Linked DNA regions of Homo sapiens: all the other regions are linked to region 1. Evidence: promoter capture Hi-C in 16 types of primary human blood cells and fetal thymus (Javierre and others, 2016). All regions are on one chromosome and are shown on one strand. Each heading gives the region's core, a stretch centred on a gene start or on the middle of the fragment in contact. The rest is flanking DNA. Distances are from core to core; before and after follow the strand shown. Region 1 holds the start of XPA (XPA, DNA damage recognition and repair factor). Region 2 overlaps ANP32B (acidic nuclear phosphoprotein 32 family member B). Region 3 holds the start of NANS (N-acetylneuraminate synthase).

The links. The method cuts DNA at HindIII sites, captures the fragments that hold promoters and counts their contacts. A CHiCAGO score of 5 or more calls a contact.
Region 2: a contact is called between a fragment that was not itself captured here and the fragment with the promoter of XPA in region 1, in 1 of 17 cell types (neutrophils). The highest score is 6.3, in neutrophils.
Region 3: a contact is called between the fragment with the promoter of NANS here and the fragment with the promoter of XPA in region 1, in 1 of 17 cell types (neutrophils). The highest score is 5.3, in neutrophils.

What each region holds. Positions count from the first base shown.
Region 1 is chr9:97,694,310-97,698,863 of GRCh38, reverse strand. XPA (XPA, DNA damage recognition and repair factor) reads left to right here and starts at 1,524. Exons shown (of 6, transcript NM_000380.4): 1 at 1,524-1,743. The coding sequence starts at 1,572. RefSeq lists a silencer at 1,363-1,462 and enhancers at 2,013-2,062, 2,073-2,132. The HindIII fragment of the contact is 4,221 bases long and covers 1-4,160 here.
Region 2 is chr9:98,010,399-98,014,865 of GRCh38, reverse strand. ANP32B (acidic nuclear phosphoprotein 32 family member B) reads right to left here. Exons shown (of 7, transcript NM_006401.3): 5 at 3,477-3,595; 6 at 2,394-2,445. Among named protein-coding and RNA genes, the nearest start is that of ANP32B, 29 kb to the right of the region's middle. RefSeq lists an enhancer at 3,988-4,057. The HindIII fragment of the contact is 2,614 bases long and covers 175-2,788 here.
Region 3 is chr9:98,054,466-98,058,595 of GRCh38, reverse strand. NANS (N-acetylneuraminate synthase) reads right to left here and starts at 1,864. Exons shown (of 6, transcript NM_018946.4): 1 at 1,656-1,864. The coding sequence starts at 1,787. It also overlaps a transcript of TRIM14 not described here. RefSeq lists enhancers at 1,146-1,265, 2,306-2,355 and silencers at 1,516-1,685, 1,766-2,115. The HindIII fragment of the contact is 20,554 bases long and covers 1-4,130 here.

The DNA.
Region 1 (4,554 bases), core at 275-2,774:
TTTTTTGAGACAAGATGTTATTGTGTTGCCCAGGCTGGAGTGTAGTGGTGCCATCACAGCTCACTGCAGCCTTGACCTCCTGAGATGGGTTCTTGTTACATTGCCCAGGTTGGTCTTGAACTCCTGGTCTCAAGCAATCCTCCTGTGTTGGCCTCCCAAAGGGCTGGGATTACAGACATGAGCCACTGCACCTTGCCAATTATTATTATTTTTTAATAGTGACAGGGTCTCACTGTGTTGCCTCAGCTTGTCTTGAACTCATGACCTCAAGTCATCCTCCTGCCTTGGCCTCCCAAACTGTTGAGATTACAGGTGTGAACCACTGTGCCCAGCCTAGTTTTTAATTTTAATGAAGTCCAGCTTTTTTTCTTTTGTTGCTTGTGCTTTTGATGTTATGGAATTTGAAATAGTTTCACCTGGGCAAGATTGATGGGTAGGGAGAAAGAAGGATCTGAGGGGAAGGGAGATGGGGATGGCTTGAGATTCTATCTCCAATTCAACCTAAGATTTCAGCAGGTAACTGCTTTATACGAGGTTTTGCAGCTTTATGTATATATGACCGATAAATTAGAACACTGAATTGTGTTTCTGAAAGGTTAACCATTGAACATTAGTGGGAAACATCAGTGTGTGAGGTTGTCTTTCTAAAAGCCAGTCCTAAATGGTACATGTAGTAATTAGAAGTTAATGTTTTCTGGTTTCAATTAAGCATTATTTGTAACAAAGGGAAAGCATACATTTTTGGGAAAGCCTGCTATGTTTCTTTTGTTACACTAGCCACACTTTTGGGAAGTCAGGATATTTGGCCCAGATCCAAACCCACTGTCTACCTGGCAGTAGCTCATCCTCACTGAAGGAATATTCCATGGGAAAGATAGCCAACCTTATGCATATCAGCCTTGGAGCAAGTCCTGCATTTGCCTGAGGTCACACAGCAAGTTAACTGGGAGTTTCAACCCAGGTCTTCTCATTTTAAATCTAAGGCTGTGTCTCTAGGCCGTGTATCCAACATAAAATCAGGACTATCATCTGTTGGGCTCTATGACTGGCACTACTACTACTCACTGTTACCATTTTTTGAGGTCTTCTACGTGCCAGGTTATTGTCCTGGCAATCTAATCCTCCCAAAGACTCGGTAAATGGTTCCATAATTATCCTCATTTTACCACTGAAGAAACTGAACTCTGGTTAAATAACTTGCCCAAGGTCACACAGACTTTAACTGTCAAGAGCTCAGACTTAACCCAGGCCTGACTCCAAAGCCTATACTCTGAATCACCAAGCGAGACCTATTTTAAAGGTGACCAGGTCGTGAGATATGATCTCAGCACGGACCCTTCTCCCGGATGACAAGAGAGCAGGTAGTTAGGCGGGTACTCCGTGTCCGCGCATACCCAGACTCCGCCCAGCGCCCGGGCAGGCCACCCCGAGCCCCTTAACTGCGCAGGCGCTCTCACTCAGAAAGGCCGCTGGGTGCGGGGAGCGCAGAGGCGGTGCAGGGCGGCTGGCTCGCCTCGGCGTGCAGTGCGCGTGCGTGGAGCTGGGAGCTAGGTCCTCGGAGTGGGCCAGAGATGGCGGCGGCCGACGGGGCTTTGCCGGAGGCGGCGGCTTTAGAGCAACCCGCGGAGCTGCCTGCCTCGGTGCGGGCGAGTATCGAGCGGAAGCGGCAGCGGGCACTGATGCTGCGCCAGGCCCGGCTGGCTGCCCGGCCCTACTCGGCGACGGCGGCTGCGGCTACTGGAGGTTTGGGCCGCGTCCGCGCTTTCCCCTTCCCTCTCCCCGCCTCCCCGGTCCCCAGACTGGCTCGTGCAAGCCGAGTCCCGGGGCCCGGGGGTCGCGTCAACTCCGCTGGCGTATGTGTGCAGATTCTCCCCGAGTCGGAGAGGGAATCCGCCCAGCCAGCCGCCTTGTCAAAGCGTCCTGTCCACGACCACAGAGCGTTCCTCTGTCGCACGCGGGCCTCCTGACCCCCAGCCCCGGGCCTTCTTCGCTGCACCTCGGCTGCTGGCAGCTTCGATTTTTCGTTTAGGGATGCAGCCGCCCCGGCCGGGAGGTGTCAGCCACTGCCAGGTGTCAGGGCCTCAGCTGTCCCGGAAAGAGGAGTTAGACTAGTTCTTGATTCTGGCCTCTATACCTAGAACTAGTTGATGGAAGAGGCAGATCTTGGTGTTTGTTAGGGAGAGCTTTCAACAATTAGAGTTGCCAAAAGTGCAATGGATTGCTTCTCATGAGCTTCCCGTTACTAGAAGCGCTCAAATAGGAACTGGAAGAACGCTTACTTATGTGGAGGAGAGGAGATTCAGCAATCAGAATCTCCTACTCAGCAATCAGAAGAAGGGACTGGATAGTAAACCTTTAAGATTCTAATCCATAGATTCCATGAGTCTATTTCTTGGACATGTGACCTCTGCGATTTCTTGGCAAAAACTAGTTGCTCAAAACGTGTTTATTGATTGAAGTAAATTAAGGACTGATCTCTCATTGCAGATTATTCTCTTATAGAATTTGCCACTGGGGTCAACTAATAATCTTTAACAGGATACTTAAAATATAGTTTGGTTGACAGGCAGTTCTTCAGGGCTGCCTCTATAACATGAAGTACATGTGTTCCTAAAGCTCTATACTGCCCTTTGTCGAGCACAGTTTAGAGCTGTATTACTCTTTTTTATCAGCCAGATGTAGTGAGAGTGAGAAGAGTCTGAGGCTGGCAGCATGTCTTGATGTTCATACTAACACCGAAACTGCAAATTCCAGCTACTTTTGATGGTACTGGTCTCATCCTTTCTACTTTATAGTGGTTACCTTTTATTCCTTTCTAAACTTGAGGCACGCTAGAGTCAGACAGAAAGTTCATTTGCACTGATTAATTCATAGTCATGATTCCATAAAGGTTTCCAGGTCTACGACATGGCTGTGGAACGGAAGGTGCAAAATAGCAAAAACTGACATTAAATTAAACTTTTGATCATGGAAAGCAAGGTAGAATGAACATTCTTTAAGATTTCTTAGGCAGTTCCCCAAGAACTGAACTGTATTGTAGCATTGTGTACAACCCACCATGTTTCAAGAGTTAGGTAAGTGCTGAGATTTTTATCTTTGTGACACTTTTATTTCATGGTACTATACAATTTTCTTTTTCTCTGTGTGCCATGACATATGCCATGAAAGACTGAAAAAACTTGCTTAGAATACGAAGAGTGGTGCTAAGGTCCTGGGGAAACAGCAAGGCATAGCAGCAGAGAGAAATCGGACTTTGTTTTGGGCATGAGTTAGCATTGTTTAGGATCCTGCTCAAGTCATGGGCTCGACTACTCCAGCTTTCCCTCTTCTTAATTCTCATTGTGTTTACTGTCATTCCATTCATTTACTTTGCTATTTATATTACATATTCTGGTAGGTTCATTCATTTCTATCCATCCAGTTGGTACTCATGGAATGTTTACTATTTGTCAGAAGTATACAAGTAAAGGCACTCAGTCTAATGAAGGGATACAGAGAGATGAACAGGCATTATAGTGTGAGAATTGCTGTTAACAGTGGAAACAAGTTTATAATCTAATCCTTTCATTTAATAGAGGGAGAAATTGAGGCCAGAGAAGGGGAGTGACTGTAGCAGAATAAAACATATTAATCTGTCTTAATAAATGGAGGTGTAACATACTGTAAAATGTACTCATCTGAATTTTACCTATGTGAATGCTTGTGTAAACACCATCGTGATCAAGACATGTACACTTCCGGAACCTTAGAAGTTTTCCTATTGCGCCTTCCTAGTCGGTGTCCACTCTCTACTCTCAGAAGTAATACTCTTCTGACCATTTGATTGGTATTACCTATTTCCAAACTTCATGTACATTGAGTCATACAGTATCTGGCTTTTTTTGCGCAACATAGTATCTGAGAGATTCACACATTTTGTTGCGTGCATTGGTAGTTTGTGCATTTAGATGTTGTATAGATTCTTTTGTATTATGCCACAATTTTTTCCATTTTCCTTTTGGTGGCTATTTGGGTTGTTTCCACTTTGGGGCTGTTACGAATGAAACCTCTGTACACATTCTTTTTTATGTATTTTAGTGGACATACACACTCACTTCTCTTGTGTATATGCCTGGAGATGGAATTGCTGGGTCATAGGAGAGGTGTAGTTATGTTAAGCTTTAGTAGATATTGCCAAACGGTGATTATATCAGTTTCCAATCTCACCAGCAAAATGGCAGTTCTGGTTGTTCCACATCCTCACACTTGGTATTGTCAGTCTTTTTCATTTTAGACATTCTGGTGAGAGTCTAATGATACTTCATTATGGTTTTAATTTGTATTTTCCTAATGATTAGAGATAATGAGAACCTTTTCATGTGCTTTTTGGCCGTTTGGATATCCTCATTTGTGAAGTGCCTGTTCAAATCTTTTGCCTGTTTTTAAAAGTTGGGTTGTCTTTTACTGACTTAGAGGATTTTATTATGTATTCTGAATGTGAGTCCTTTGTCAGATATGCATACGTTAGACCTCCCTTTTCCAAGGTTTCACTTTCTGTGGCTTTAGTTACCCACA
Region 2 (4,467 bases), core at 232-2,731, 320 kb before region 1:
CATGAGAATTGCTTGAATCCGGAAGGCGGAGGTTGCAGTGAGCTGAGATTGTGCCACTGGACTCCAGCCTGGGTGATAAGAGCGAAACTGTCTCCAAAAAAACAAAACAAAACCCCTCGTGCTATCTAGCACGTCTTCAAGACATGCTTACTTTCAAGTGATCTCAGACAAGCTTAACCTCTTTAAGCCTTTTTCATCTGTAAAATGGGGACAATGGTACTGACTTTAAAAGGTTATTCTGAGAATTAAATAACACACAAAACATAGTATGGAACATCATTAAGACTCAAATTGTAGCAAACTAATATTAACTAAAAAGGAAATTCTTAAGAGTATTATGTAGTCGAGACACAGAGACTTACATATAGACCAATTTTTTCAACTAATAAAATCCATGGTTATTTTAATGAAATTAACTATATGTTAAATCATATTTCATACAGGTTGTTTTTTTTTTTGAGACAGACTCTGGCTCCGTCGCCCAGGCTGGAGTGCAGTGGCTTGATCTCGGCTCACTGCAAGCTCCGCCTCCCGGGTTCATGCCGTTCTCCTGACTCAGCCTCCCGAGTAGCTGGGACTACAGGCGCCTGCCACCACACCCGGCTAATTTTTTTGTATTTTTAGTAGAGACGGGGTTTCACCGTGTTAGCCAGGATGGTCTCGATCTCCTGACCTCATGATCCACCCGCCTCGGCCTCCCAATCATACAGGTTCTTAAAGGCAGTGACCAGGTCCTAACCAGGGTAATATCTAGTGTAAATGTAATTGAGAGCTTGACAAAGTGGATGCTGAGAAAACATCAGCCAACAGCACAGTGAACACCTGATTTTCTGAGACACAACCATGAGACTTTTTATTTGAGACAAGGTCTCCCTCTGTCACTCAGGCTGGAGTGCGGTGGCACTATCATAGCCTCACTGCAACTTCAAGCAGTCCTCCCACCTCAGCTTCCCAAGTAGCTGGGACTATAGGTGTGCACCACCATGTGCAGCTAACTTTTTTTTTTTTTTGAGACAGAGTCTTGCTCTGTTGTCCAGGCTGCAGTGCAGTGGCATGACCTCAGCTCACTGAATCTCTGCCTCCTGGGTTTGAGTGCGTGCCACCACGCCTGACTAATTTTTTAATTTTTAGTAGAGACAGGATTTTACCATGTTGGCCAGGCTGCTCTCGAACTCCTGACCTCAGGTGATCCACCTGCCTCGGCCTCCTAAAGTGCTGAGATAACAGGCGTGAGTCACCACACCCGGTCCCAGCTAACTTTTTAATTTTCTGTACAGACAGGGTCTATGTTGTCCAGGCTGGCATACTTTCAACAGTATTAAATAAGTAACAGCTATTTCATTTGTCTTGGTTGTAGTGGGGAAAGGACTAACACTGACAAAACTGGGAAACTGCTACATCTATTTATATATCCTGAAAATGATGGTTCAATTATTAAAGCCTTTTTTTAAAAAATGAAAGAACTCCAAACACAGAAACTCACACTTGACAGTAAACCAAATGACTGGTCCTAAAAACACATTTAAAACATGGGGAACAGGCTAGGCATGGTGGCTCACACCTGTAATCCGAGTAATTTGGGAGGCCGAGGTGGGTGGATCACTTGAATTCAGCCAGGAATTCAAGACCAGGCTGGCCAACATGGCAAAACCCTGTCTCTACTAAAAATACAAAAATTAGCCAAGTGTGGTGGTGCATGCCTGTAATCCCAGCTACTGAGGAGGCTGAGGCAGAGAATCCCTTGAACCTGGGAGGTGGAGGCTGCAGTGAGCTTAGATTGCACCAGTGAACTCCAGACTGGGCGACAGAGCAAGACTCCATCTCAAGAAAACAACAGGCCGGGTGTGGTGGCTCACGCCTGTAATCCCGGCACTTTGGGAGGCTGAGGCGGGTGGACCACGAGGTCAGGAGATTGAGACCATCCTGGCTAACACGGTGAAACCCCGTCTCTACTAAAAATGCAAACAATTAGCTGGGCGTGGTGGCAGGCGCCTGTAGCCCCAGCTACTCTGGAGGCTGAGGCAGGAGAATGGCTTGAACCTAGGAGGCGGAACTTGCAGTGAGCCGAGATCGTGCCACTGCACTCCAGCCTGGGCAACAGAGCGAGATTCCGTCTCAAAACACCACCACCACCACCACCACCCCGAAAAAAACCCCATGAGGACTGAAGACCAACAGGACCCTTGCCATGAGACAGGAATAACTGCTGTAGCAGCAGGGAGCCTGCACCAGCACAGACACACTGATGGGACGATAGAAACGAGAATGTGAATGTGTAAACCACCAGAGCCAAGAGTATTTTATTTTCTTCTCAGTGGTATCATATTCTAAATAATGGATGTTTTTCTCTAATTTTTAACTGAGAATGATCAAAATGCATGCATTAGGCCCACCTTCATCCTCATCCTCATCTTCATCTTCTTCATCAAGTCCAAATTCTTCTTCCTAAAGAATAGCAAACAGCATAACATTAAATTAATTCTGCCAAATTGAAAAGTGCATATAGTACAAATTCTGCCAAACTAAGAAGTACAAATAAATGCAACAATATCAATCAAGCAGGAAACTGTAATGTTATTTTTATCTACTTTGATGTACCAAGACCCACTGATTTTCCTTAACGAGCTTTATAATTTTTCTAAGAAAAATTTTTTTTAGAAGCAAGCAGTTCATTTGCTAGATGTTTAATTAGTATATAACTCTGGATAATTCAAGAAAACATCTTAAAATCTCAAATTTCAAAACAGATTTAGACAAAAATTTCTATATCCCATTCATATACAAAGCTTCTTTCAGAACTTTAATGTCAATCATACACCTAATGACATCACACAAACCCCAAGCCTTATTTTTATACTACAAAAGAGGATGCGTTTTGTTAACAACTAATGTTGTCTGCCTGTTTCCCAAACCTCTTTGAGGGTCAAAGTCAAGACACTGTTTTCTCCTGCCCTCGTATAGCATTTATTTCCTCAGGGATCCTCTATTATTGGGTATTTCATAAACCAGACTGTGCTCTTTCAGGGCAGGACCACAATCTCATTTCATTTTGTACTCCCAACTCTTTAACATAGCAGATATATATTTACTGAATTACACTGAATATACAAGAAAAAGTTTAGACTTGGTAAACATAAACTTCCCTACAATTCAATGAAGGAACAGACATACCATCAATTCTCAACATGTCCAGTTTTCTCACCACACTGAATACTCAATTCATTCCTTCCCCCAGAGGGCCAGAACTTACCTTGCACAGCCAGGAACCGTACTAGTTTGAGTTCAGTAGGCATTCTATTTAGTAGTTATTTAAAGCCAGACAAACACTAAATTAACCAGATTCATATTGTAAATGTATTCACAGGTATACTAATTTCTTCAAAAGGTGTTTTTTCTTTTCTTTTGTCATCTTTTTGAAACCCCCACTTTTGTTGTAATTACAAATAGGAAGCAGGGTAGAAAACAGCTGCACTGACCTCCTCACTGACTTCATCGTCGTCCTCATCCCCTTCTACATCTTCATCTTCATCATCTTCTTCATCAAACTCCTCTTCTTCACCATCCTCATCGTCCTCGTCTTCCTCATCTTCTCCTTCTAAAAATAGTCCAAAAGGGATTCATTAAATATCCTCGACGCTCCACAGGGGACAAAGTGTTGAGGATCTGTGGGCTGGCTCACAGAACAAATGCTGTAAGGCCACGAACTGCAGTCACTTTCTTTCTACTATGTGCTACAGCTCAGTCCCTTTGTCCGATAGAGTCCCATAAAATCAGAGAGCTAGAAGTCCTGGTAGATAAGACAAACACTATAATTCTCGCTGATGAAATGATACAATGGCTAAGATTTGCTTCAAAATTATATGGAGTGGGGAAGAAGGTAAGGGTATGCAGGAATAAAATAAGATCAGCTATGACCAATAATTGCTGAAGCTGAGTGATAAGAACATGGGGGTTCATTTTGCTATTATTTTTACCCTTTGTCACTGTCTGAAATTTTTGACAGTAAAAAGTTAAAAAAAAAAAAATCATGTACCTTCTCTTGGGTATCATTACCAGAGTCACAGTCAGCTGCTCAAATCAGGAACCTGAGAAACACCCATAATAACCCTGTGACTCAGGGGACAGGAGGCTGAGAGGCACCTGCATCTCTAGCTGGTTGTTCGGACCTCTAGTGCGGCAGTTCTTGCTTCTCCTGGGTCCTAGAGCACACCATGCTCTCACCTGCCTCCTGGTCTCTGCATGCTCTTTCCATCCTCTTTGCTTGGCTAACTCTGACTCCACCTTGGAGTCTCAGTCAACATCACTTCCTTAGGCAGTCTTACTCACCAGACCTCCCAATGCCAGGTCATAGGCTCTCACCATGAGTATGTGGTGCTTCTCCATTACAACACACTTTGCTTACTTGCAATTATTATTTAGAATTCTTAATTTAAAACAATTTTTTCTGTACAGATAGGGTTTGTCTAT
Region 3 (4,130 bases), core at 615-3,114, 360 kb before region 1:
CTTCGGCATTCCAAGAGGAAAAACAGACTGCTCCTTCAAATTAAGAGTGGGAATTTCCCTCTAGAAAACAATGTTGCAGAAGAAAGGCTGGAGTCCTGTGGCTTAGGAGCAAAAACTGAAAAAACCCCTTACTGTATTTATTATACTAGCTATGTGACCTTGCCTAAGTCACTTATTTTCTCTTAGCCTTTAAAATGAAATCGGCAGCATCATGGCATTGGGTTGTTGTAAAAATTAAATGAGATGGTGCATGTACAGCATTTAGCTTAGTACCTGGTAGAGTAAGCACTCAAAAAATGTTAGCAATGTTATTTTTGTAAAGTATTTTTATGATTCAGTGATTAGGTTTCCATAAAACCAGTCCCGAAGGAACAGCAAGGGCCGAGGGTGGTGGCTCACACCTGTAATCCCAGCACTTTCGGAGGCCAAGGTGGGCAGATTGCTTGAGCTCAGGAGTTCGAGACCAGCCTGGGTAACATGGCCAAACCCCATCTCTACAAAAAAATTAGCCCAGCATGGTGGTTCACGCCTGTGGGTCCCAGCTACTCGGGAGGCTGAGGTGGGAGAATCACTTAAGCCTGGGAGGCAGAGGTTGCAGTGAGCCGGGATCATGCCACTGCACTCCAGCCTGGGTGATACAGAGACCCTGTCTCAAAAAAAAAAAAAAAAAAAACCAGGAAAAAAAAAAAAAAACAGTAAGAGAAAACCTCCAGCCTGGGTGACAGAGCAAGACCCTGTCTCTAACATAGATAAATAAATAAATAAACATTTAAAAAACCTATCACAAATGATACAAAATCAGTTGAGTAGCATTGATGAAGGGAAAGGAAAGATGGGGTGAGCTATCTCTAAACCAAAGAATCATAGTGCAGGCCAGGCCTTATGCTGGGGGCTGGGGTCGTAATGAAGAATATGGCAGTCCCAACAGAAGAGGGAGCACGCATTTACCGACTCATGTGTGCCAAGTGCTGGGCTCAGAGCTCTATCTGAGAATCTCATTTGATCCCCATAACAACTCCATGTGGAAAGAACTGTTGTTTTCAAGCCCCGTTTTCAAATGGGGAAAAGGGTTCACGGAGGCTAAGTAAGCAGCCCATGTTCACACAGCTAGTAGTGGTGGAACTGAGATTTGAACTCAAAGGCCCGGCTTTTAACCACTTCATATTTCATATACAGGGAATGGCGGGTGAGAGAGACCACAGCAACTTCCAGGAACTGTCATTCCTGAAAGTAACTCTGTGTCGCTGAAGAATGTCAGAGAAGAATTATGACGGGCTGGAAGGGGCCCAGTCATTAAAATCTTGAAGGCTATGTTAAAGGGTTTCGACTCTACCCGCGGGCAGGAGGGAGCCACAGAAGGTGCCAGGCAGGGGGGATGGTCTGATCAAGTCTGACTTTTAGAAAGATTATTCTGGCACCAGAACGGGGAGGAAACAGGTCGGGTTAGGAGGCAGCTGCTGTAATGCAGAAAGGTCACGAGGGTGGCGGACACGGTGAGGAAGAGGGATCCGAAGGATTCCGAAAACGGAACTGGCGGGCGGGAAGAGGCCGGACCAGGGTACCCAGCCGCGGAGGCCGTGTGGCCCTGGCTCCCCGCGGCCCCGCCCCGCCCCTCCCGGCGCCCGAATCCCGGGTCCCGGGAGCTGCCGCCTCACCTTGGCCATGCGGATCATGCGCTTGGCTACGTCCAGGTCGCCCTGGTGGTTCTGGCCGATCTCGGCAATGATGAAGCACGGGTGTTGCCCGCCCACCCAGCGCCCGGGACACAGCTCCAGCTCCAGCGGCATTGCAGCGGCTCGGGGTCCAAAGCCTCACTACCAGTCTGGGTCCGGCCGCCGCCGCCGCCGCCTCTACTCTGTTCTGTGAGCAACGCTGCGAGACCCACACGCCAGCCCCGCCACGTCAGCCCGCGGTCGCCGGGCAGCCAATCCCCTAGGCCCCGCCTCTCTCCCGACAGCCAATCGGGGCGGGGGGCGGGGGCGGGGCCTCCCGCGGGAAGGGCGGCGGGGCGGGTCGAGGAAGCTCCGCGGCCCTCTCCTGTGCGAGGCTTGAGGCTTGCTGTCCCAGAGCGTGGTCTCGGACCATCGCGGTATCCGTGCGTGCACCCAGGAGCAAGCATTCCCTGCAGGAGGCGGACGGCTGCCTGCGCAGGGCATAGTCTATGTCCTGCTCTCAGGAGCATGGGGAGAGCGCGCCCTATGGTGTAATGGAAAAAACAGGGTTGCTAGAGTTAGAATCACAGAGCTGGATCGAGTCCAGCCTATGCCAGTCACCAGCTCCTGCTCATATATACGTTACTCAGTCTTCCGGAGCGTTATTTTTGTTTCTCTCTGAAGCAAAAAAATAAAATAGAACTGTGAGATGACGTATAGAAACCCCTGATCACAATACTTGGCTTGTAGTAAGTTTTCAAGAAGTGGCGGAGGTTCCTATTATATGAGAGGCAACAGGTTCGAGAAGTTGCACTGGCTTGTCCAAAGCCATCCAGAAAGCCAAAGCAGAGATGGGACTAGTACCCGGACCTCCCAGCCCCAGGCTCTTAAAATACAATCACCTGGGCGGGCGCGGTGGCTCACACCTGTAATCCCAGCACTTTGGGAGGCCAAGGCAGGCAGATCACCTGAGGTCAGGAGTTCGAGACCAGCCTGACCAATATGGAGAAACCCCGTCTCTACTAAAAATACAAAAAAATTAGCCGGGCGTGGTGGTGCGTGCCTGTAATCCCAGCTACTCGAGAGGCTGAGGCAGGAGAATCGCTTGAACCCGGGAGGTGGAGGTTGCAGTGAGCCCAGATCACACCACTGCACTCCAGCCTGGTGACACTGCAAGACTCTGTCTCAAAAATAAATAAATTAATTAATTAATTTAAAAAATAAGATAAGTTATTTCCCAAAATAAACCTCCTTCTTTCCTGGGAACTAGACTGCCTTTGTAGGACTAACAAATTAGCCACAAGATTAGACACGTAGGAGTCATGCACCTGGAGGCTACAAGATTCTGACCCTCCCCAAATTGCTCCTGGGGATAACATCACTATTGTAAAACCTAAGACCAGTGCTTGAGATATTTTGCAGACCCTGCACTTGATGGATCAGCTGGCACCACCAGATTGATAAACTGGTTCATCTGATCTTGTGTCCCCCAACCAGGAACTGACTTGGCACAAGAAGACAGCCTTGACTTTCTATGATTTTATCTCCAACACAACCAATCAGCACTCCTGGCATACTGGCCTCTCTTAACCCACCACATTATCCTTAAAAACTCTGATCTCCAAGGTGGGGCATAGTGGCTCACACCTGTAATCCTAGCACTTTGGGAGGCTGAGGCGGGTGGATCACCTGAGGTCAGGAGTTCGAGACCAGCCTTGCCAACATGGTGAAACCCTGTCTCTACTAAAAATACAAAATGAGCCAGGTATGGTGGTGCATGCCTGTAATCCCAACTACTTGGGAGGCTGAGGTAGGAGAATCGCTTAAACCTGGGAGGCGGAGGTTGCAGTGAGCTGAGATTGTGCCATTGCACTCCAGCCTGGGCAACAAGAGCGAAACTCCATTTCAAAAACAAACAAACAAAAACCCCAAAAACCTCTGATCCCTGAATGCTAGGGGAAATTGATGTGAGTAATAATAAAACTCAGCCAGACTGCACAGCTGGCTCTGCATGAATTACTCTCTCTATTGCAATTCCCCTATTTTGATAAATCAGCTGTGTAGGTAGTGGGCATGGTGAACCAGTTGAGCAGTTAAAAATTTGGGGGCTCATTCGGGATTGCTCTTGTGCTACCTGCCCCGGTTCTGTAGACCCCCTCTGGCGATGGATCCAGAGGCCAGCCCAAGCGGCCACCTAGTTTTGGACTGGGGGCTGACTCTGGCGTCATCTCTATCGGCAGGGCACTACTAGCCCAATATGTATGGAGTACACTTTGCAATAGAGAAATTGTCCTGGGGAGATATCTCATAACTAGAGCTCCATGGCAAGGTGTCCCTCTGTAGCTCCACCATGGGGTGCCTGTAACTGTAACCTTATCACAGTGTCTGTTTGTAGCCCCATCATGGATTGTCTGCAGCTGCAGCCCCATTATGGGGTGTCTGATTTGGTGAGTAGTCTAGGTGCTGCCAACACCCCTT